Linked DNA regions of Homo sapiens: regions 2 and 3 are each linked to region 1. Evidence: promoter capture Hi-C in human tissues and cell types (Jung and others, 2019). All regions are on one chromosome and are shown on one strand. Each heading gives the region's core, a stretch centred on a gene start or on the middle of the fragment in contact. The rest is flanking DNA. Distances are from core to core; before and after follow the strand shown.

The links. Contacts are between HindIII fragments. The study calls those that stand out against the background at their distance.
Region 2: a contact is called between a fragment that was not itself captured here and the fragment with the promoter of LRRC14B in region 1, in 2 of the 25 tissues and cell types used here (IMR-90 fibroblasts and aorta).
Region 3: a fragment that was not itself captured here is called in contact with the fragment with the promoter of LRRC14B in region 1 in 3 of the 25 tissues and cell types used here (H1 embryonic stem cells, mesendoderm cells and neural progenitor cells).

Annotation. Positions count from the first base shown.
Region 1 is chr5:189,673-193,049 of GRCh38, forward strand. LRRC14B (leucine rich repeat containing 14B) reads left to right here and starts at 1,823. Exons shown (of 2, transcript NM_001080478.3): 1 at 1,823-2,765. The coding sequence starts at 1,867. It overlaps LOC124900929 (a long non-coding RNA gene), which reads right to left. Exons shown (of 2, transcript XR_007058670.1): 2 at 3,056-3,316. PLEKHG4B (pleckstrin homology and RhoGEF domain containing G4B) reads left to right here. Exons shown (of 20, transcript NM_052909.5): 20 at 1-294. RefSeq lists an enhancer at 1,488-1,537. The HindIII fragment of the contact is 15,773 bases long and covers 1-3,377 here.
Region 2 is chr5:125,504-129,009 of GRCh38, forward strand. All of the region lies in intron 2 of PLEKHG4B (pleckstrin homology and RhoGEF domain containing G4B), which reads left to right. Among named protein-coding and RNA genes, the nearest start is that of PLEKHG4B, 35 kb to the left of the region's middle. The HindIII fragment of the contact is 6,287 bases long and covers 1-3,506 here.
Region 3 is chr5:76,381-79,884 of GRCh38, forward strand. No RefSeq gene overlaps it. Among named protein-coding and RNA genes, the nearest start is that of PLEKHG4B, 14 kb to the right of the region's middle. RefSeq lists an enhancer at 871-1,770. The HindIII fragment of the contact is 3,709 bases long and covers 1-3,334 here.

The DNA of each region.
Region 1 (3,377 bases), core at 573-3,072:
CCACCCCTCTCTAAAAGAAGGGAAAACAGTAAGCGAGAGGGAGGCTGCAGGGGCCCAGACCTTGGCTGACCTTCCTAGCCATGGTCTCCACCCTCCGAGACCCAGGGGCCCCGCAGTGACAGCAGGGTGTTGGGCCACACAGAGCCCGAGTAGGTAAAGGAAGGTTCTGGAAACCACTTTTCAGAACCCAAAAGGTGTCTGGGAAATGGCGTTACCTGCCACTGTTGTTAAGTGTTTACTTTGTATCAATACTGAATTGTTAAAAATTTTAATCATAAAAACCAATGGAACATGTTTTTCTACTGTGTCCTTCGAGATTCTCTTATCTGGTCCTGGAAAGGGGCCGTGTGTCTGGGGAAACCTCTTGTGCACCTCATGAGGGGAGCCCGGGGGCCCACATCGGCTGGCCGAGGGCGGCCACCCCTGAAGGGTGGGGTCAGGGCCCACCCACCTCTTCACACACACCTCCGCCTGCTGGACAGTGCCTGGGCCCCACAACGGAGCACAGTCCCTTCTGCATGGGTCGCCTCCCGGGGAGAGGCATTGCTCAGGCTCAGGGAACAAACTGGGGAGGGTCAGACAGGGAGGCTGGTGGGGCACCCATGACCAGCACCCTCCAAGCTTGCTCAGCAGCCTTCCCCCTCCCACTGCTGTTTCTCTTTCTGTCTCCCCGTCTGTCTGTCTTTCTCAGTCTCTGTCTCTGCCTACCAGTCTCTCTCTCTCTCTCTTAGTCTCTGTCTCTCCCTTTCTGTCTCTCTCTCAGTCTGTCTCTTTCTGTTTCCCTTTCTCTCTCCCTCAGTCTCTGTCTCTCTCCCTCTTAGTTTCTGTCCCTCTGTCTCTGTCTCAGTCTCCGTCACTCACTTCTCTCAGTCTCCCTCAGCCTCTGTCTCATGGCCGTGACCCTCCAAAGCCCATGGACACGTGGTGCCCTGTAGTGATGTGTGCAGTGATGTGTGCAGCGATGTGTGCTGACCCTGCCCTGAGTGGCAGTGTCACGGGGAGAGGTGAGTGCAGCACCCATCAGCTGTCCAACACGGTCAGTGCTGGGAGTGAACCATCAGGCACCGCCCCCCAACACAGGTGTATCCCATTCCCTGCAGCTTTCCCTGCCGCACAGGCGGCAGGGTTGCAGACAGGACACTGCAGCTCAGAGAGAGCTGGGGGCTCATCCGAGGCCATCAGGGAGGCTCCACCTCTCCCAGCCACTCTCTCCCATGGAAAGTAGGGAAGCCACCCCCGCCGGGTCCTTGGGGAGAAGGAAAGGCACAGGGAAGGGGCAAAACAGCAGCTCCATTCCTGGCCACTCGTCTCACCCCAGATGCGAGGCGAAGTGTGGGAGCGGCCCCAGAGGCCACTGTGGAAAGGGAACTGGTTACCGAGTGAGGCGCAGGGGCCTGGCCTGTTCTCTGCCCCGTTGACTGGTGGGGGAGGTGCCCAGAGCTGGGCAGTAGCCCCGCTTGGATGGTAAACAGGACCTGCCCGCTGGCCTCACCGGCCGCCAGCACGAACGCCTGCCAAGACTGGCTTTCTGCAGCATGGAGCACAGGCTTCTCTGCCCAGCCCTGCCATGGGCACGGGCTGCCTTTCTGTGTCGGCTGGGTGCCTGAGCCAAGCAGCTCCCAACGGCTGGGTGCCTGAGCCAAGCAGCTCCCAACGGCTGGGTGCCTGAGCCAAGCAGCTCCCAACGGCTGCGTGCCCCGAGGCCGGGCAGACGCAGGTGTCCCAGGACCAAAATAGCAGTCAGATGATCATAAGGCCCCGTGGCAGGGCCCCCAGGGCAGGCTGCTCACAGCTGCTGCAGCTAAAGATAGGCGTGAAGGGCACACGCCTTGGGGAAAGTCGTGGGGAGCGGTCCTGTCTCGGGCCATGGACACAATGAGGTCACTCCGCTTCATTTCTGCAGAAGCTCTGGTGTCCCACCCCCAGGTGGCCCGGCAGAGCCTGGACAGCGTGGCCCACAACCTCTACCCACTCCTGTTCAAAGCCAGCTACCTGCTGGAGCAGGCGGAGGTGACGCGCGCGGTGCTGGGGCGCTGGCCCCTGGAGGAGTTCCGGCTGGGAGCGCTGCTGGGTCCTGGTGCCGACCACCCCCAGGACCTGCGCGACAGAACCTGCAGGGCCTGCCTGGAGGCGCTGGTGCGCGGCCTCGCGGACCACGTGCTGCAGGACCGGAGCCGCCGGCGGCTGCGGGTGGCTGACCTCACGGGCATCCGAGATGTGCAGGTGCAGCGGTGCCCGTGCGGGAGGGCGCTGGGCAGGTGGGGCCGCACCCAGCTGCTGGCCAGGACCTGCTGTGAGCTGCAGGCAGAGCCCCTCGCAGCCGGGCGCCCCGTCGAGGTCCTCGCCGACCTCTTCGTCACTGAGGGCAACTTCGAGGCGGTGGTGCAGGCTCTGAGGCCAGCGGGCCCGGCCCCTCTGCGGGTGCACTGCCCCTCGTTCCGGGCGGACAGCCTGAGCCCCAGCCAGCTCCTGCACGTGCTGCGTCTGGCTGGCCCGGGTGCCCTGCGCAAGCTGGAGGTGGTGCACAACGTGCGGCTGCATGCGGGCCACGTGCAGCAGCTTCTGGCCCAGGTGGGCTTCCCCCGGCTGGCCTCGCTCACCCTGCCCACCAAGGCCTTTGATGCACCCCCCACCTACGCCTCCACTCCCGACGGCGAGGACCCCCTCCTCGCCTCCATCGCCCGGGAGCTCAGCAAGATGGCGCAGCTCACTGAGCTCAGTGTGGCCTTCTCCACGCTGACCGGGAAGATCCCGACGCTGCTTGGGTGAGTCTTGGGGAGGGGACTGAGGGCGGGCTGGTGGCTGCAGAGGCAAGGAGAGATCGTCCAGGGGCCTGCTCATGTCCAAGGCCATGAGGCTACACGGCCTCCAGCCTCTCACTCCGGGTGTGGCCACAGCCACAGGACAGCGGCCCCGCCAAGGGGCAAGAGCACCGAAAGTCAGAGCCACCAGGAAAGAAGCGGGCTGCCATGTGTGACTTAGGGATGTGGAGAGAATGCCAGTTAAAAAAAGAGAATACGGAAATTACCAAACAGACGAAACAGAAGTGCCTACGTGGTGTGAGGAGTTGTCTATTGTTGATGAACGACTCACCCCAACACTTGGGGGCTTCAAACAGCAAACACGATTTCAGCTCAGAAATCTGAGCCTGTCGGTGCCTTTGGCTCAGGGCTGCTGTTGGCCAAGGGTGCCATCTCATCCGAAGGCCTGACAGGGCGGGATCCTCCCAGTCTCCCTCGAGGGAGGCCTGGGCTCCATGCTGCATGGACCTCCCCATGGTGGGACAGGAGGCTTATGCAGGATCCTCTCAGCAGATCTGCGTGAAGGAGGCAGAGAGGGCAGCAGCTAGGAAGGGGCCAGGCCAAGGCAGCCTCAGG
Region 2 (3,506 bases), core at 698-3,197, 64 kb before region 1:
AGAAAATTACATCTTTATACTTTATTAGTATGAAGTATTACTAATTATTACTAGTAGTATGAAGTATTAAACATAATCTAATAATTCTTATAAATATATTAGTGTCTTAAATCATGTAGAAAACAAAAAGGCAGTTACAAGCCATTGTTACAATAATACTAGCTTTCATAATTTGCATATATTTACCTGTATTGAAATCTTTATTTCTTCATAGTCCTTCAAGTTACTGTCTAATGTTCTTTGAGTTCACCTTGCTGGACTCCGTTGTTTCTGCAGGGTGGGTCTAGTGGTAACAAATCCCCCCAGCTTTTGTTTATCTGGGAATGTCTTAATTTCACTCTCACTTTTGAAGCATAGTTTTGCTAGATATGAGTCCTTGTCAACAGGATTTTTTTCTTTTATCATTTTGAATGTTTTGTCCCACTGCCTTCTGGACTTGAAAGATTCTGATGCAAAATATGCCGACAATCTTATTAAGGTTGTTGCATGTGATGAGTCACTTCTATCTTGCTGCTTTCAGGATTCTTTGTCTTTGTCATTCAAAAGCTGGATTATAATGTGTTTTGGTGTGGGTCTCTTTGACTTCCTCTTACTTGGAGCTTATCAGGCTTCTTGGATGTTTGTATTCATGTCTTTCCTCAAATTTGGGAAGTTTTCACACATTATTTCTTCAAATATTCTATGCCTTTTTACTCTCCTTCTGGAACTCCCATTTTACATATGCTGGCTGCTCGATGGTATCCCACAGGTCTTTTAGGCTTTGTTCACTTTTCTTTCTTCTGCCTGCTCAAATCCACCTTTGAACCCCTTTAGTGAATTTTTCATTTCAGTTATTATACTTTTCAGCTCCAGAATTTGTTTGGCTTCTTTTTAGGATTTTTAATATCTTTGTTGATATTTTCACTTTTTCATACATCACTTTATTTTCTTCACATCTTTCTTTAGTTTTTTGAGCATCTTTAAGACTGTTGTTTTAAAGTCTTTTCCTAGTAGGTCTACTATCAAGTCTTTTCCAGGGACAGTTTCTAATTATTTTTTCCATTGAATGGAACATACTTTCCTGTTTGTTTGAAGGCCTCATGACATTTTGTTGAAAATTGGACATTTGAATCTAATTATGTGACACCTCTGCAAAGCAGACTTTCCCCCTCCCTTGGGGTTTGCTTTTTATGTTGTTGAAGCGGCACTGTTTTCTGGGGTAAATACCCGGGGTTCATCATCTCACACCAAGAAGATTAAGGACATGGACGCACATGAGGAGTGAGTTTAGGAGTGGAGGTTTAATAGGCAAAAGAAAGAGAAAGGAGAAGAACTCTTACTCTCAAGACAGAGAGGGGTGCCCAAAAGGGAAATCTGGCCTGCGGCAGAGAGCACCAGATTTTATAGGCAGGCTTGAGGAGGTGGTATTCCATTTACATGGGGCCCACAGATTGGTTGGACCAGGTGTGACATTTACATAGTGTGCGGGTCGGGGAAGCTGGCCACCCCACCCTAATCTTATGCAAATGTTCTTTCCACTTGGCCAGCGCCATCTTGCCTGCTCCTTACTATACATGTGGCTGGCAAAAGAAGGGAAGACGGAGCTGCCATTTTGAACATGCCTAGTCCCAGGTAGCCTTTTCTTATTGGCGCAACTGCCAGCATTCACCTGTATGAGCTTCCAGCTTGCTTGTCTATGTCTGCAGCTCGATTTTAAAGGCTGCTCTTTGTTAGAAAAGAAAATGATTTGGGGGCTGATTTTCATTAAAAGGAAACGTTACTACAGACTTTCTTTCCCTCACTATCTGCCTAATTTCTTCTTAACTCCTATATCATTGTTTCTGCTTATTGTTGGTTTTTATTATTATTATTATTATTATTATTATTATTATTATTATAGGCTGCCTCTGTGCCAAGGCCCAGCCTGAGGTGTAACCGTAAGGTCATTTCAGTTCCTTCTGAGCCTGGTCCTTTCTTTGAGCATACATGGTCATTTTCTAATTTTCCTTGTATACATTTTTTTAAAATGTCCTAGTGTTTAATGTCTGGCTCACAAAAGGGGAAAAGACAAAAAAATGAAAGGGGTGGCAAAAGGGCATCACCTCTTTAAATCCCCTGGAAGTCACTTCAGTGGCAGTGGTAGGTGGCGGCCGAACAGTGAGAAAGGTGCAACAATATTGAACTTGCACCTCTTTGTCTGCACCTCTGTGGTCACCAGCCACAGTGATTAGAGCACTGTTAATGAAAAGAGTCAAACTCTGTAAAATGTTTGAAGGGATTTATTCTGAGCCAAACATGAGTGACTATGGCCCCTGATACAGCCCTCAGGAGGTCCTGAGAACATGTGCCTGAGGTGGTCAGGGTACAGCTTGGTTTTATACATTTTAGGGATATTGAGACATCAATCAAATAAATTTAAGAAATACATTGGTTTGGTCCAGAAAGGCAGGACAACTAGGGGATTTGGTGAATTTAAACATTTTCTGGCTGACAATTGGTTGAGTTCTTCTAAAGACCTGGGGTCAATAGAAAGGGAGTGTTCAGGTAAAGATAAAAGATTGTGGAGACAAAGTTTCTTTTGAATCTTATGGTGGCTGCCCTTAGGGACAATAGATGACAAATGTGTCCTATTCAGACCTTTAAAAGGTACTAGATTTTAGTTAATCTCTTCAGGACTGGGAGGGCCCGGAAGAAAAAGATCTAGCTATGTTAATAGAGAGTCTTTACAGATACAAATTTTCCCCCACCAAGGACAGCTTTGCAGGGCCATTTCAAAATATGGCAAAGAAACGTATTTTGCAGTAAAATATTTTAACTTTCTTCTTTGTCACATGATGTTATGCCAGAGTCAGATTGGAAAGTCACAATCTGTATGGCTAAATAAAAACCACATGATGAGAATTTATGGTTTGTAGGGCATGAACTCCCCAGACCCCTCAGATAGGCATTTAGGCAAGATTAAAAAAATCAGAGCTTAGTCCTCAGCACTGATCCACTGTATTTGGATGACAGGGGTTTTCTTTTTTGTTTCTTGGGGTTTTTTGGCCACTTTGGCTCTTGCAAGCCGCTCCAGGAACACAGGCACAGCTGCCTGCGGGGCTGGAGGTGGGGCTGCCAGTGGGGCCAAGAGCTGAAATTGACCACAATCAACCACAATTTGCCCTTCATGCTTTTGGTAGACTCCAGAGTTCCAAAATAGTTATGGCAGACAGATTCTGCCAGTGCAGGTGTTGTCCAGATGGGGAGACAGACTGCTGGTGCCTCCTACTCCACCATCTTCCCAGAATCCTCCTCACAACTGGGATAACCATAAAGGGTGTAAACCAGAAATGAAATTCTAAGTCCCCCACCAACTGAACAGACCCCCTCTCCCTTGGCCAAGGAGATCCCAAAGAAACTGGAAGAACGAGTTCAGGCCGTGACAGGGAGGGGTCGGACAGGCCTTTGGAGTTTAGGCACAACTGACCAGCATTAGTATTAAAATAGAGACCAAAAGACTGACGAAACAGATTCCGTAGCAATAAGAT
Region 3 (3,504 bases), core at 230-2,729, 110 kb before region 1:
AGTCTCCAGGCTTCATTCTCTGCCATGCCGCCTTCAACAGTATTTTTAAGAGTTTTCATTCTCATCAAAGGGGTGGAGATTAAATGGTGTCCTCACCCCAAAAGGTGCCCTGCCCTTACTGTTTGACCACAGAGGGCTGCTGGGAGTAAGGAGGTCTGGCGTCGGCCATGGCAGTGAGTCAGAAGACACGGGGTCCCCGCTGGCTTTCCGAGTATCGGCTGCGACCCACTGAACTCAGCCATTGAGCAGCTCCTCTGTCCTGGGTGCAGGCATCGCACCCAGTGCTGCTGTGGAAACCTCTGTGCTAGGGACAGAAATAGGAGGAGGAGGAAGAGATGGGGGCTGGCTGGGAGACTCCATGGGAGAGGAGGCCTAGGAGGGACAGGGGTCAGGAGGTCTCCTCAGCAGAGCCTGCTGGCAGCGGGGGAATTAGCCTACACCAGAAGTGGCAGGGCGCCACACGGACAGGTGGCGGATGGAGGATGCACTGGGCAATGTCTTAAAGCCCCAGTTAACTGGGGGTGTAGCGAGGAGCTGTGGAGGGTTGCCCCAGATGCAGAGTCGACACCGTCCTTCTGTATCTGTTCCCCTGTGCTTAGCGTCCTGTGTGACCCGGAGTGGATGCCCCATGTGCATGACGATGCTGGGTAGGTCAGCCTCATGTGCTACAGGGTGAGTTGACTGGCAGAGCCTCCCGCAGGTGCCTGGGCAAGAGGGGACAGGGCTGATCTAATTAGGGCCAGGACCATTCATCACTGTCCCAGCATACCGTAGCCCCTGGGGATGCAGAGGGGAGGAAGAGGGCAGGAGAGAGGGTCAGAGGCTGTTGGTGTTACGGACAGAAGTGTGTGGCCCCAGCAGGTTGGGTCTGGCTCAGGGGAGCAGTAACAGCTGGAAAGAATAACAGCCCCTTTGAAACTGCCATCTGCAGACCTCCCTGGCTGGCTTGGGATGAGGCTGTGCAGGCAGGAAAGATGAGAGTCCGAGGAGGACTTTTCCTTTTTGTCCAGTGGGGACAGACACTGAGGGAACTTCTTGTTCATAAGGAAGCGGCCGCAATCCAGTGACCAACTTTAAGGAGGATGCACACAGACAGGTGTCAGCATAACTTGCTTTACTCTGAAGGGTGGAAGTTCATTAGAGTGACTTGTGGTGGATTCAGCAGCATTAAAATGCCAATGAATTAAGGTAATAGCATGACACAGTTATTCATTTCTTGTTCACACAGTCGTGGCAGGTGTGCGGCCTGCAGGTGGCTCTTTCCTGTGGGCCATTTAGAGACCCAGGTCTCTTCCCGCCTGTGGCTCTGCCTTCCCCAGAGCCATGGCTTCTGTGTCCAGGTGAAAAGGGGAAGAGGGCATGGAGGAGGCACACCTGGGCCTCCCACAGGAGAGACCTGCGTCCCACAGCCGCATGACAGCAGGGGAGGCCGCAGGCCTGGCTGGACAACTCGCCGTTGCTGCCCAGCTGCCTTGCCGTGAAGTTCCCAAATCTGAAAGCCGTTCATCAAAAGTGCAGAATAATGTTCTGTACTTAAATGTGACTTTAGTTAATAATCTTTGCTTGTCTACTATTTAACTATCAGTAGACCAGAAAGATGTTTTTGGTCAAAAGTAGAAATCTAACCTGGTGTTTTGCATTACACATTAGCGTTCCTGTCTCATTTGTGTTGCTGTGGGGTGCTGGGATCTGCGTCACTGTGTCTCTGTGTCTGGGGGCGTGGAGACTGCTGGCCCCAGGACTTCTTTCCATTGCTCTATTAAAAATGCCTGACATTCCCAGAACACCACAGGGGTTTCTCACCCCTGTCATGGGTTTTCTAAAGGCTGATTCCAGGCTGGGTCCAGGCACTTTTGTCCAGAGGCAAAGAGGCGGAAACTGCCAAGCCTCCCATGGCCCCATGGAGGCAGGAGGCCCCTCCCCGGGAGGCTCCAAGTGCCTCCCTGCCACCACCACCATTATGCAGCCTGAAGTGGGGACAGAGTCCCTGGTGTCGTCGGCCAGGCCCCCCAACTCTGGGCGCCTCAGAGAAGCCCCTCCAACCTAAGGGAGGAAGAAGGAGAACATCTGTGCGTCTCTGGTCTCTTGGCAGAGTCTTGCTTGTGTAAGACGCATCAGATCGGGAAACTCCAGGCACATCTTCCACGGCAGCTCGGGTGGCCTGGGAGCCTCCTCTGCCAACCCATTTCCTCTTGTCCTGTTGGCTGCCCTCAGGTTCTGTGAGTGGGCCCACCTCACCTGTGCCGGGAATTGGCATCCTGTCCCTCTGCATCTAGGGCTGCCTCGAGGTGGCTCTGTTCACCCTGGAGGAGGCCAATGCTTGGGGCTTTGTGTGAAGCCAGCAGCCTTGGGTGCTGCCCACTAGGGGGTGCGTGGGGGCTGAAAAGATGCCATCTCCAGGCTGCCTTGCGCTGACTGCTTTACCCCTAGCTGCCCTCCTTAGGCTGCCCTCCTTGACCCTCCTCTGCTGATCACCATTTCTTACAGGGCAAAAGGTGGCAAAGCTGTGATGCCAGTCCCAGCAGGTTCCTGTTAGGAATCAGGGTTCCCAACTCAAACGCCAGTGTGGAGGCCCTGCCTCACGTCTGCCTGCTCAGCACCTCTCTTCTCCTCCATGACTTGCATTAATTAGGGATTGAATTTATATTCTAAAGCAGTTCTAAAGTTTTGGGTGCAATTTTTCCTAGTATATCTGGAATAGGTTACAGGGGGTTGCAGTTAGGTGTTGAATACATGCCATTTTTTAAAAGATGACAGTGTAGGAGATGCCTAATGTATCAAAAGATTGGTCCATCCAAATAATGAAGATGAGATGGTTTATGGCAGAGAGGAGAGTGTGGATTAGGTGTGAAAAGAGTGAGGGTAAACCTGGATGGACTGGCCTCGGGTTAGTAAAGAAAGAAGGAAATGCAGCAGCCTATGACCAAGACCAGCAGCAAACCCGGGGTCCTGCCACCCCAACAAGAGAACAGCAGGCCCTTGTAGTCTCAGGTGTGCCCACAGGGGTGGGCAGGGAGCCGTGCTGAGCAGGATTAAGGGGAGGGAGAGCCCTGGTTTCCGGGTGACCATCTCTCCCGTAATGCTGTGCACCGTGTGTGTTCTTTGCCCAGTGTCTAGATCCTTCTGAGGGCCCCTCTGTGGCTCCTGCCTTCTGGGCTGAAGGCAGTGGACGAGCTGTCAGCCTGCAGCATCTAGGATGAGTCTGCTGAGCAGTGTGGCCGCTCTATGGTGAGATGTACCGGGAGTGTAATGGACAGACAACGCTTCCAAGATCAGCATGAAAGTGCAAAATAGCTCAATAATTTATGTATCGATCAGGTGTTGATATGACAGTATTTTCGTTATGTTGGGTTACATAAAATATATTTTTCAAGTTAATTTAACCGATTTATGTTTGCCTCTGTTTATCTTTTTAAGATGAGGCTGATAGAAACTTTCAGTGAGGTGCTTTGGATTCTCTATCTAGACCCACACTCTTGGGGGAACGGGCTGCCCTGGCCAATC